2 separate regions of the Homo sapiens genome follow, and region 2 is linked to region 1. The links are contacts of gene promoters, found by promoter capture Hi-C in blood cells and fetal thymus (Javierre and others, 2016). All regions are on one chromosome and are shown on one strand. Each heading gives the region's core, a stretch centred on a gene start or on the middle of the fragment in contact. The rest is flanking DNA. Distances are from core to core; before and after follow the strand shown. Region 1 holds the start of NDUFB4 (NADH:ubiquinone oxidoreductase subunit B4). Region 2 overlaps GSK3B-DT (GSK3B divergent transcript).

Region 1 (6,963 bases), core at 3,266-5,765:
TCTTAATCTAACTAATCTAACCTAATCTAACTGTCAGAGAAGCCACTTTTTCTCCTTTGTCATTTTCATCTATTCTTCTCTGGACTGTTTTTAGCTTCATTGTCAAGTGTGACCATCAGAACCATGCAGTATTCCCAATGAAGAGAAACAGATTTCATATGCTCTATCATGCTTTGTATTTTGTTTCCAGGACCCTTTCTAATGCTATCACCAAAATAGTCTTTCCAGGCTACAAATAAGCTGTAGGAAGATGAAGGAGGGGGTAGGCTAGCTGAACTGTAAGTTTTTTAAGCTGACCTAGTGTGAAAAGCATTAATTCAGACATTTCACACTATTAGAAGTTTTGTAGAAAGGTCAAAGTTGTTAAAGAAAAATAATCAGACTGTCTTAAGAAAATAATTGTCCATTTTAATATATTTATACTAGAATAACTATCCATGAATAGCAAATCTACCCACAAACACATAAATTTAATTAGCTAAATGCCCAAGTGATTTTACAAAATTAGTCTCTCCAATTAACTGACAGATAAAAATAAGCAAATAAAATCAGCTTTAAGACTTTAATATATAACATGAATATTCAAGGTCCTAACCAACATCAAGAAGTCATGATTTGTAGGACTAAAATAATTTCACAAGGTCTTCCACAGTCATATTTCAAACTAAATTACAACAATTTACCCTGAGATAATCAGCTGCAGCTCAGAAGTTTAAAAAAAAAAAAAAACAAAAAAAAAAACCTTATGATGGAAATGCTTCCGTTCCTTTTAATCAGACTGAAATTCCTCAACGGTGTAAGCACTCACTACTAGATACAAAGTCCCAAAATATCTTCTGCTGTTCTAGAAACTATTGACATTATCACACCACATTAAAATGAAAGCACATGCAAGTGTTCTGCAGCATTGTTTATTATTATGCCTATACTGCCAACAAGAAAAAAGAGGGTAAAGACACAGATTAGGTCCAAGGGGATGTTAAAGCTCAATAGCTGAAAGGATTAATGCATCTATTCTTACATCCTTTCTACTATAAATGTATCTGAATGACTATCAAATGGCAGACTTCTCAATTTGCTAGTCACCTCTCTGTGCTTTAATATCTGCCAGATCTGTCTTCCAGAAACAGACATTTCATTTCATAAAAATACCAATTGCCCCATGACCATAGTTCATTAAGCCCGGTAATGTTATTGAGAGGTTCCAAAAGACACACTATGAAGAGAGTTTTCCTCCTCTGACATCACTAAAAGTCCAGTGCACTCTCAGTAGCATCTGACATGGTGAAAACTCCTGAAAATCATGTCTTCACTTGACTTCCAGGCCCACACCTGCTTGGATTTCCTGCTAACTCTATGGCCATTCTCTCTTCATTTCTTTGCTCTTTTCCTCCTCATCTCCCCAATCTCTTAATATTGGACCTCGCTGGTCTTTCCTATCTACATTTACTCCCTTGATGATGTCATCTGGTCAGATAACTTTAAATAATCTATCTAAAGGCTGATGATTCCCAAAATTTTACCTCCAGCCCTGTAACTCTCCAGACTTAATATCCAACCAACTGCTGAACTCTGACATACGGTCTAACAGGCATCTAAAACGTCACATATCCCAAACTGATTTCCCAACAGTCTACTCCACCTCCATACCTTCTCTTCTCCCATTCCTGTGTTTCTTAGTAAAAGGCAACTTCATTCTTAAAATCACTTAGGTCAAAAACCTTGGAGTCATCCTTGACTCCTCTTTCATACACCACATCTAGTCTATCAGCAAACCTGGTTGGCTCTACTTTTAAAATACACCTGGAATCTACCATTTCTCACCGCCTTCTGCCACCACCCTGGTAATCAACAGAGATTGGATTACTACAAAAGCCTCCTAGTCTCCCTGATCCTGTCCTTTCCCCCATAGTCAATTCTCAACTAAGCAGCCAGAGAAATTGTTAAGTCCAGATCACGAAATTCTCTATTCAGTAAAAGTCCTTACAATTACCTACAAGGCCTGGTGTGATCTTGTCCCACTCTGCCCTCACCTTTCTCCACTTTAGTCACAATGGTCTCTCCAGTGTTTTTTCAATTAACCTGACACTCTCCTGCCTAATGGCCCTTGCACTTGCCGTTCTCTGATGAGTAGGCTGCCTTCCTAGAGAGCTAGGTCCCTCACCCCACTTCTTTCAGATCTTTATTCAGATGTCACCTTCAAACAGAGGGCTTCCCTGGGCCTAAGATTGTAGCTGCTTACCTCCCCTACTACTTACACACACTCCAAATCTCCCCTGCTTTATTTTTTTTCTCATCACTTACCACTAACATGTTAAATGATTTTAATTTTTTAACTTGTTTCTTGTCTCCCCTACTAGAAAGTTTGTTCTACAAGGACAGGAATTTTTGCCTGTTTTGATCTCCATTGTTATCTTGGCATGTAAAATAGGGCCATAACAGACCCTGAGCAATTATTTATTGATTCAATCAATCATTCTTAAAGATTAGGCAAGATGGCCAGGCACAGTGGCTCAAGTCTGTAATCCCAGCACTCTGAGAGGCGGAGACAGGAGGATCGCTTGAGCTCAGGAGTTCAAGACCAGCCTGGGCAAAATGATGAAACTCCATCTCTATAAAAAATACAAAAACTTAACCGGACATGGTAGCGCACATCTGTGGTCCCAGCTACTTGGAAGGCGGAGGTGGGAGGACAGCTTGAGCCCGGGAGGCAGAGGTTGCAGTGAGCCGAGATCATACCACTGCACTCCAGCCTGGGTGACAGAGTAAGATCCTGTCTCAAGGGAAAAAAAAAAAAAAATTAGGCAAGAGAATTTACATGTATTGATTAATAAATGATAGTGTCACACACTCATTTAATCAACAGAACCAAAGAGACTGGTAGTATTACCTCTATTTACACATGAGAAAATTGAAACTACCCTGAGGCATACAGCTAGAAGACAGAAGATCTTGGTTTCAATTTCAGGTCTGACTGAGGCCTTATTCTTTTTTAATGCATCACACTAACACATCAAACCCAATCATGTGAGTTTGTAATAAATGTGTCTCTCTGCACCCTCTTCCCAAGTTAACAAGGTTCTGGCTGGAGACAGTATAACCAACTAGTTAAAAGCAGATGCTGTGGGTTACACAAACCAGGGTTAGAATTTTGCTCTATCACCTACTAAAGAGGTATCTCTGTATGACCTACTTGTCCTTCCCATGTTGTCTTCTCATCTGTAAAATGGGGACAGTAGTAGAGCTTAATCATCCAAATAGTTGTGATATGTAAATAGTACTCAAAAAGAGTTTTAGCACAGTGCCTGGCACATTGTAACTTTCATTCAATCCTCATAACTTCCAAAAATTCCAAAACACCAATGCAACGTGTGGGAAAAGTCCAGTCCTGTTCTGTTAACATCATATTTAACCTACTTAGTTCCTGTATAGAAAACTACCTAATGAAAGCACACCTGTTAATTACCAGTTTACTGGGCATATATTATGTGCTGCGAATGTTACACAGACTGTCTTATTTAACCTCATAATGCACATCATTTATATACGAAACCAGGAAACTATAATTCAGAGGAGTTGAAGTTGCCCAAGGTAACAGAGTTAGCCAATGAGTAGTGCTTTGGGTTCTGACTCCAAAGCCTAGAACTTCAGCAAGCTTCAGGGTCTTTAAAAGATGCAGGTTGAAGGAATCACTGTATTCCCATCAGGAGAGAGCAGTATCCCTATGAGCTGTGAACTGAAAGGTAAACACCAGCTCTTTAAAATTATATATATATATAAAATATATATGCATATATATAGAATATAATATATATGCATATATATAAAATATATATGCATATATATAGAATATAATATATATGCATATATATAGAATATATATATAATATAATATATATATGCATATATATAGAAACATTTTCTGAACACGCCTTACGAACGAGGCACTGTGCTAGGACAGTCACATACTCTATCTCATTTAATCCTAACAGCCTGATAAAAGAGTAAGCACTATATTACGCCCATTTTGCAGACAGAAAATCGAGGATAAGCAGAGTGAATAACGTTCTTAAGGTCACGCAGGCAGGAAGTGATCAAGCCAGGATTCAAACCCAGCCAGGTCTGAGTCCAGAGCCGGTCCTCTCGAGGGCCAAGCTCTGGCAAAGGTAAAAGGGTAGTGAGTTGGCTAGGCCTGGAAGAGGACCTGCGTCTGAGATACTGATCGGGAGCGGTGGCCGACCCTTTGCGTGGTCTCTCTCGGTCTCTCCCAGGACTCGGGCCCTATTCCCGCCTGGGAGGCCCCACACTCACGATGAGCCCTCGGCGGTTGGGATCGTTGTACTGAAGCAGGTACTCTCGTTTCAGCTGGGCTCTTATGGCCAACCGCTCGGCTTGCGCCCGCCGGGTTTCCGGAGATATGTTGTATTCGGCTGGGTCGAGGGTCTCAGGCAGAGTGCGCAGGCTCGACGGCTTATACTTTGGGAACGACATCTTGGCGAACCAGGGCACAATTGCGCCTGCGCGATTCTGAGGCCCTTTGTCTATGCTGACCTTCAGCTTCAGGAAGTGCGCCTGCGCGTTAGCAGAGGTTGGGGATGTCGTTAACAAGGAGCTCCGCCTCTTTCTCCTACCTTCCCGAACACGGCGCGTTCGCTCGGTGATATGCGCATGCGCGAAGTGCTCTTCTCGCAGTGCGCCCTGCCCCACCGCCGCTCCCCACCTACTCATCTGTCACCGCGCTGCTTCTTCCTAGCAGCCTTGTCTCTACTGACATAACCAGGGCTTATTATGTAAAGTTGAGCTGTGTGGGACTGGCTGTGGAGTCAGAAGTCCGGGTTTTCATTGTGGGTCTAACCGTGCTGTGTCACCTTGGATAAGTCACTTAAAGTCTCTGAGTTTCCTTTTCCTTATCCTGGAGATAATGACTCCTGTCCACCTAGCAAAGTTGTTGTGAGGATTAAATAAGCTAACAAATAGATCACAAAGTGCTTTGCAAAACAGAATTCCCTACCCAAGAAGAAGAGAATAAGCTTTTCTGTACTTTACCATGCTAGATTCATACAACATTAAGTGTAAGCTTATTTTTCACAGGTACGAAATAATGATTAATAGGAAAAATGATGTTATAAGAGAAATGTTGCCTGACTGACTATAGAAGGTCAGGAAGAAAATGAGATACTGAATAAAGCTCATGAGAAAACATCTTAGTTAAAATACTAAAACCTCTTGCCTAAAATCCTTAGCACTCTTCAGATGCAAAGAATTAAAAACATCCTTACAGGTATGAAAATACTCATAGGGGCATGTATCTTATTGTAAAAGACGATCTGGGGCGAAAACTGAAGTAATCAGAAACAAAACCTTCTCTGTCCCTACTGTCCTTCCTTCTCCCCAGTTACCAAGGAGAAAAACAACTTCAAGTTTCACAGCAGGGTCTTTGGGTTCCCCTTCTCCTCAGGGGAAAAAATGTAAACAATATTTCCATAACTCGGGCAAAGAAGGATGGATCAAAAGAGAGCCCCAGCTTGGCTGAAACGTCTGGGGGCGCGTAGGTATGTTGGGAAATGGTTGCTAGAAAAGGGACCTAGAAAGTGTTGGCATTTGAAATGATGAGAAGCAGCACTGCTGTCAAATTTATTCAACATTTTAATACTGTTTTAAAATATTTATTAAGCACCCACCGCGTGAAGCACACAGCACACTAGTCAGTGTTAAGTCAATCTTCTAGGCTCAGTGGGGGAAATCCAGACAAAATGGAAGATGGGGTGTTTGCCTTTCGGGAGCTGACAATCAGGCAGTACAGAAAGAATAGGCAGAAATGGTAATATTTCAAAGTAGTCTAATGTCCAGATGAATATAGAGCAAAATGGACTCATGAGGATTCAGGCTGAGAGAATGTAGAAAAAATGAACACAAGACGAGTTACTCAGACTCGATTTTAAAGGAGAAAAAAAAAGGAAATTCTGACTTGTTCAAAGGTGTTTTGAAATACTAAGAAAATAATACAATATGAAAAGCAAGAGCAGTTTATAAAATTCTAAAGACTACATAAAGTTTCCAAAACCTGTATAGATTAGACACTGATCTAGGAAGGAGAGCATGTAAAAAGAATAAAAGGATAAAGGAATGAGTCCAGCGAGTACGAACTGATGCAGGGCAGGCGAGCCCCAAAGTGGGGCTTAGGCAACCAGGGAACTTGGCTTTGCCCAGGAAAGAATTCAAGGGCAACCCGGAGGTAGAAGAAAACAATTTTATTGAAGAGGCAGTGTTACAGCTTTGGTGGTGTCACAACCGTGACTGCTCCTGTAGAGCAGGGCCACCTCATAGGCAGAAAGCACCAGCTCAGGCCAGCTTTGAGTCACATTTATACCCACATTTGGCAGTTTGGCCGGGCGCGGTGGCTCACGCCTGTAATCCCAGCACTTTGGGAGGCCGAGGCGGGCGGATCACGAGGTCAGGCGATCAAGACCATCCTGGCTTACACGGTGAAACCCCGTCGCTACTAAAAATACAAAAAAAAATTAGCTGGGCGTGGTGGCGGGCGCCTGTAGTCCTAGCTACTCGGGAGGCTGAGGCAGGAGAATGGTGTGAACCAGGGAGGCGGAGCTTGCAGTGAACCGAGATCGCGCCACTGCACTCCAGCCTGGGCGACAGAGCGAGACTCCGTCTCAAACAAACAAACAAACAGACAAAAAAGTAAAGAGGCAGTTTATGCAGACATTTCTAGGGAAGGGGTAGCAACTTTTGGGTCATCAGGTCATTGCCCTGGAAAGGGGTGGTAACTCCTGGGTGTTGCCATGGCAATGATGAACTGACACACTGGTGTGTGTATCTGATGGAAAGCGGCTTCCACCTCCGACCTGTTTAGGCTAGTGCTCAATTTGGTTCGGTGTCCGAGTCCTACCTCCTACCTCAAACCAGCTGACTAGGTTAAAGAAGATTTCTTAAGGTTACTATAAAGAA
Region 2 (6,963 bases), core at 2,648-5,147, 500 kb after region 1:
TGTGATGGTTTTATAAAGAGGAGTTCCCTTGCACATGCCCTCTTGCCTGCAGCCATGTAAGATGTCCTCTTCCTTTGCCCTCCACAGTGATTGTGAGGCCTCCCCAGCCATGTGGAACTGTGAGTCCATTAAACCTTTTTCCTTTACAAATTACCCAGTCTCGAGTATATCGTTATTAGCAGCATGAAAAGGAACTACTACAGCAAGGTTCAGGTTCTTAAAATAGCATTTTAAGTGGAAATTACATACTTTCAAAATTACCCTTTACAAGACCTTAAATATCAATAAATTTAGTCAGGCCAGTTTTTCCTCCAGTATTGGAATGTATCACTCTTTCTTTGGTTGAGCACCAGATGAAGAATTGTATTTGACTTGCATATATGGGTTGTGTTGTTAAAAAAAAAAAAGCCCTGAACTGTTTTTAAAAACTACCAATACTTTCATTTTCGTGAAATGGTAACACAAATAAGAACCTTGCGGAAATGGGGACCACCAAGTGAGGAAACAGCAGATGGACCTCCCATTCTCATATTCTATATGAGCTATTGATTACATTAACTCTATATGAGCTATCTGATTACATTAATAATGAACTAATTAGGAATAGTTTCGCAATCCGTATTTCATTGGCTCCTGTCTTTGCTTGCTGATGCCGAACTTCAGCTCCTTGCAAAATCCTCTGCCCATAATTTCTAAGAGCCCCTACACAGTGTTTTACATGGGCTCAAGAATAAGGCATATCTGCGGCCACGTGGATATCTGCTGCTGAGTTTTCTTGAACACTTCTAGTACTCATCAGTGAGCCAGCCCCATTAAGCCAGGTCATTACCATGTGCTGCTGGACATCTTCATGACCTCCGTTGTGGCCCTCAAAGAATCAAAATGCTTGTTTCCTGGAATCTCCAATACTGCAAAATCGTGCCATCATTTTCTGCACAAGTGGCAACAAGCTGTAACCCCTCATCTTTTGATTATGTTGTGTGATGTAGTAATGATTTTAGTGCACTCCTATTTCTGCTCTTGGTACTTTCCTAGTGGACTCCACGAGGCTGTATTGGAATATGAATCTTCAAGATAGGTAAGGTGTCATTCCCTCAATCCAAGGATTAACAGCTGGCATGGCATGGGCACTGACCAACTGGAACACTGGCTGGTGCACTGTAGCTGTGCAAATTGACTGAAAAGCAGTCTGGCCAACCCCCACCTCTCTGTCATCCACACTTCTTGGCAGTCTTTCCACCAAAACCCTTATGTAAATCACCTCTTGGCAGCCTGAAACTACCAATTTGCCAGATATGCCATGACATGTTTGAAGCCTGGTGGTGAACGGAGACTTGCCCCAAGCTGTGATTCTATTTGAATGCATCTAATTAAGAAATTTTGATACTCAAATTATATTGTAGAACCGATAATAGGAAAAAAATTAATGTAAGAAAAAATTCAGAAAACTAAAAAATTAATAAAACAACTTTTTTGGGGGGAGTATTTTCTCAGAGTGCTTGTCCATATGCAGATATTTTATAAAGTTGTAATTTTGATGGTTATAATTGTTTCGCTTTTTCAATTACAATCACACTACTCATTTTGCCAACATTTACTGAGTTCCCACGATGTGCACAGCATTGACTGAGATCAAGAGAAATGCCTTACACCTCCATGTAATTCTATTTATACTGGAAGAAAGTTAGATAATGAAGGCAAAGCATGTGCGTGTCCTCATTTGGCAACTCCCTGTTGATGAATTCTTTTTTTCCCACTAGATGGTTTCTCTGGTGCTTAGAAGTACTTCACTTTAACTCCTCTCATGCCAGATTAAAAGCTTAACCTCCATAGGATAGTTTGCTTCCTCAGAGTTCCAGCTGATATGGCTGTGTAAGATATTTGTTTTTAATTCTAAAAGGGTCCAAGAGCCTTTGGCCTTGGAAATATTTTTAAAATGCAGTTGAATAAACCAGTTAGGTTTTAAAGCATATACAGCAGTTTTCTCAATTTGTTGCAAGCAAATGTTTCCCACCATATGTGGCACAGACCTGGGCACACAGTAGACAACAAGCACTTCCTGGTGGAATTAGGATATTCGTGTCTTTTCATGTGTTGTCCAACACAGGCCAGCAAAATTTATGAAATTCTATATAATCATATTTAAAGTCCTTAAGGATAAAAAGTACAATTGGAACACTTTTGATAAGAAGACTAAAAATGAAAACTGTATTCAAATTGTCAAGAAGTGGTTAGAGAAAGTAGAAGTGTACTCAACTGTCTCGGACATGTTGAGTCCTCAAAAAAAAAAAAAAAAAAAAAAAAAAGAAAAAAAACCAGACTGGGTATAGTGGCTCACACCTGTAATCCCAGCACTCTGGGGGCCAAGGTGGGAGGATTGCTTGAGGCCAGGAGTTCAAGACCAGTCTGGACAACGTAGGAAGACCTCTGCCTTTACAAAAATAAAAAAATTAGCTAGGTCAGTTGTGTGCCTGTAAGTCCCAGCTACTTGGGAGGCTAAGGCGGGAGGATTGCTTTATCCCTGGAGGTAGGCTGCAGTGAGCCATGATCACACATCTGCACTCCAGCCTGGGTGACAGAGCAACAAATTATCTAAACAATAACAACAACAATAAAAACAAACAAACAGAAAAGAAAAAACAATCAGAGTTGATATTTTCCTAAGACTCCTAACTGGTCCTAAGAGTAGCAAGATTTAGTTAGGGGAATAATGGTTATTTTTCCTAAATTACTACTTTTATCTTCAAGTACTGAACACTACTAGTGCATACACAATATACATTGTAAAAATAAAGAACAACAGCACCAGCCTGGACAACATGGCAAGACCCTGTCTCTACAAAGTAATTAAAATAGCTGGGTGTGGTGGCATGCACTTGTAGCCCCAGCTACTGCGGGGGAAGGGGGCAGTGGCAGGGCATGGCTGAGGCAGGAGGGTTGACCTGAGCCCAGGAGTTTGAGGTTGCAGTGAGCTATGATCACACCACTGCACTCCAGCCTGGGCAGCAGAGCGAGACCCCATCTCTAAAAATAAAAATAAAAAAATAAGACAGCAGAGATAGTAAAACATCTTAAAACTGAGCTATAAACTCTCATAAGGATCCTTTCTGGTTTCATATCTGGCACTTCATACTACTGTCTGATCTAGATGTTACAGAGAAACACATTCCTTGAGGCTTTGTACATTCCTTCCCATTTTCTTTCAAGATTCCATCCTACAGGGCACAGGAATGAAGCATCCTGATACAATTCAAATAAAGTTTTGGCCTGATTAAGGGAGACCAGTCCTCTCTGCATTCTGAAATTCCTTTTTGGATGATCCATAGGAGGTCTTACTTTTTTTTCACTTCCCTGCACCCCTGGCCAAGGATATTCAATATCCAAGAAACCAAATACCAATTTTCTTGTAGCTTTCACATTTCCCATCAACATGACATAGATTAAAGACCAAAAGACTTCTGTTCCATTCTGAGAGATGTGAGTCCCATTTCCATGTGAAGGAAATCTGACCGTTCCCGATTTACAGCTACTGAGGGCCTAAAATATTTGTTCTGAGAATTTCTCAGGCCTATATTTATTACATTTTAATGCACATAAAACAAAGCTGAATTCCTAGAATTTGCTGTAAAGAAGTATACTTCAAGTATTCAATCAACACATACTGTTTTCAATTCATTTATTCAATGTGAAAATATTTACACTCTTGTATAAAAAAGCTCTTTTCAAAAAATGTGAATGGAAATGAGGTAAAATAAATAAAATTGAAGTAGTTCAAAATAATCTAATCGGTAATAATATAGTAAACCACATGATTATACCCTTAGAAGTAAACATGTGACAAGCATGAAAAACTAAAAGGATTTGTTAGAGGCATGTGAACCAGAGCAACTCCATCTTAAACAGGAGCCGGGCAAAATGAGGGTGAAATCTATTGGGCTGCATTCCCAGATGGTCAGTTAAGGCATTCTAAGTCACAGGATGAGATAGGAGGTCAGCACAAAATACAGGTCTTAAAGACCTTGCTGATAAAACAGGTTGCAGTAAAGGAGCTGGCCAAAACCCACCAAAACCAAAATGGCGACGAGAGTGACCTCTGGTCGTCCTCACTGCTACACTCCCACCAGTGCCATGACAGTTTACAAATGTGCCATGACAGTTTAGACCCTATGTGGTCCAAAAAGGGGAGGCATGATTAATCCACTCCTTGGTTAGCATATCATCAAGAAACGACCATAAAGAATGGGCAACCAGGCCAGGTGCGGTGGCTTATGCCTGTAATCCCAGTACTTTGGGAGGCCAAGGCGGGCAGATCAACTGAGGTCGGAAGTTCAAGACCAACCTGACCAACATGGAGAAACCCTCACTCTACTAAAAACACAAAATTAGCCGGGCGTGGTGGCGCATGCCTGTAATCTCAGCTACTCGGGAGGCTGAGGCAGAATTGCTTGAACCTGGGAGGTGGAGGTTGTGGTGAGCCGAGATCACGCCATTGCACTCCAGCCTGGGCAACAAGAACGAAAACTCCATCTCAAAGGAAAAAAAAAAAAGGGCAACCAGCAGCCCTCAGGGCTGCTCTATGTAGTAGCCATTCTGTTATTCCTTCATTTTCTTAATACTTGCTTTGACTTTTGCACTGTGGGGTCACCCTGAATTCTTTCTTGTGTGAGATCCAAGAACCCTCTCCTGGGGTCTGGATCATGACCCGTTTCCTGTAACAGATTCAAGTGTTTTTCTTTTATTTTCTATAGTATACTCCTTTAAGATGTCAAAATCAGAGTATTTATATAATTTGCCAAAGGCTTGATATGCAACTTTTCATACAACCAGTCTATTTCACAGTGACAGTGTTTCAAACACTCTCCCTCTTCTTTTTGGGTAGTCATTCATTAATTTCCCATTTGGGCACACCTCACTGGTTATAAGACACATAACCAACTATGCCACATCTTGTTACTCTGGGCATATTTTCAGCAACAGGAAAAACCACAGTGTATGTTACTTCAGAGGCTTTCCTATAATGGTAATGTCTTACATCTGCTAAAGTACCTCTCCACTGTCTACAGGACAAAGCCCAGTTTTTTTTTTTTTTTTTTCCTGTAACAAAGCTCCCTCAAACCTACCTTTTCAACCTTATCTTCCATTAGTCTTCTCTATCAGCTTTTTGTTCCAGCCAAACTGGTTTTCCCAAAGTCAGAAGAACAGAGTCACACTGTCCTTAATTGCTGTTACAGCTCCACCCACATGCAGGTTTACTAAAGAGAGGTTTTATCTGATGGGTTGAAATTGAAGTGATGGAAAGTAATTTACCTCCCCTCTTCTTTCTTCATCTTCAAATCCTACTACTCCTCCTTTAAGATCACTTTAGATTGAAGTGTCCTCCACTCACCTATTATAAATAGGAATGCATGGGCAATTTATTTTAAACTTTGTAGTAACAACCATATTAACAAATTATAGGCCAGGCATGGTGACTCACGCCAGTAATCCTAGCGTTTTGAGAAGCCATGGCACGCAGATTTTGAGCCCAGGAGTTTGAGACCAGTCTGGGCAACATGGCGAAACCCCATTTATACAAAAAATACAAAAATTAGCTGGGTGTGGTGGTGCACCCTTGTAGTCCTAGCTACTTGGGGGGCTGAGGCAGCAGGATCCCTTGAACCTGGGAGGTTGAGGCCGCAGCACTCCAGCCTGGAGGACAAAGTGAGACCCTGTCTCAAAAAAATAAATAAAAACCAAATTATGTTCTGTCTCATAACTTTTATCAATTCAAAATGTGATTTTTATAATTTATTTAACTTTTCATGTAGTTGCTTCCCTAGAGGGTAAACTCCCAAAGGACACTGATCCTCTCATCCACCTTATATCAGATGCCTAGCAGGTGTCTCAAATATAATACTTACTCACTATTGTCTAGTTTTACTATTTTAACTTATATGACAAAGGATTATCATAAAAATTTTCGTTGGAAAGCTTTGCTGAGAAATGTGAATTTTTTTTAAGAATTCCATTGTAATTAGAGGCTTCTGAGGGACATGTGAATCATAGTGAAGAAATAATATAAATGTTATTTTTTGGGCCAATTCCCCTTAAAATCAAACACAGAGGTGGGGTACAGTGGCTTACACCTGTAATCCCAGCTACTTAGGAGGCTGAGGTGGGAGGACTGCTTGAGCCCAGAAGTTCAAGGCCATAGTGAGCTATGACTGTGCTACTGCACTCCATCCTGGATAACAGTGAGATTAAAAGATAAATAAAAGTAAAAAAATAGAAATTTATTATAAAAATACTAAGCAAAGACATTTAAATATTTTCATTTATATTTAAATATGTTATTGACGAGTTATTCTAATTTGTCTTCCTTTCCAATCTTGATCCAAATGTACTTATATTTTACAGATTGGAAATATGGTAGATATACAACCTGAAGTTCTATATTTTTCAATTAGTATTGTTTCCTAAACATATTTCTGAGTTACTTTTGGTGGTTGTATTTATTTTTACTGGCTGCCTAATATGGAGTTAATACAGCATAGTTTACTTTACTCCTCTATTATCCTGTGATATTTTCCTTTATTTTCTCTTGGCCCACATCTTAGACATTACATAATTTCAAACTATCTCAAGGTCTCCAAATACCTTGTTAAACATTTCAGCCATTGCATAACCTTTTCTCTTTGCCTGGAATGTTCTTTCCTTCCTTATCCATCTGTACAACTGTACAACTATTCTTTGTCTAAACTAGTGGTTCATAAACTTTTTTTTTTTTTTTTTTTTTGAGACGGAGTTTTGCTCTTGTTGCCTTGGCTGGAGTGCAATGGTGCGATCTCAGCTCACTGCAACCTCCACCTCCTGGGTTCAAGCAATTATCCTGCCTCAGCCTCCCAAGTAACTGGTATTATAGACGCCCGCCACCACGCCCAGCTAAGTTTTAAAGTTTTAGTAGAGACGGGGTTTCACCATGAT

The links. Contacts are between HindIII fragments. The CHiCAGO score rates a contact against its expected background, and 5 or more counts as called.
Region 2: a fragment that was not itself captured here is called in contact with the fragment with the promoter of NDUFB4 in region 1 in 1 of 17 cell types (activated CD4 T cells); the score reaches 5.7 in activated CD4 T cells.

Annotation. Positions count from the first base shown.
Region 1 is chr3:120,593,888-120,600,850 of GRCh38, reverse strand. It overlaps NDUFB4 (NADH:ubiquinone oxidoreductase subunit B4), which reads right to left and starts at 4,515. Exons shown (of 3, transcript NM_004547.6): 1 at 4,312-4,515. The coding sequence starts at 4,491. RefSeq lists enhancers at 2,995-3,064, 4,105-4,444. The HindIII fragment of the contact is 1,375 bases long and covers 3,658-5,032 here.
Region 2 is chr3:120,097,137-120,104,099 of GRCh38, reverse strand. All of the region lies in intron 1 of GSK3B-DT (GSK3B divergent transcript), which reads right to left. Among named protein-coding and RNA genes, the nearest start is that of GSK3B-DT, 5.5 kb to the right of the region's middle. The HindIII fragment of the contact is 4,151 bases long and covers 1,822-5,972 here.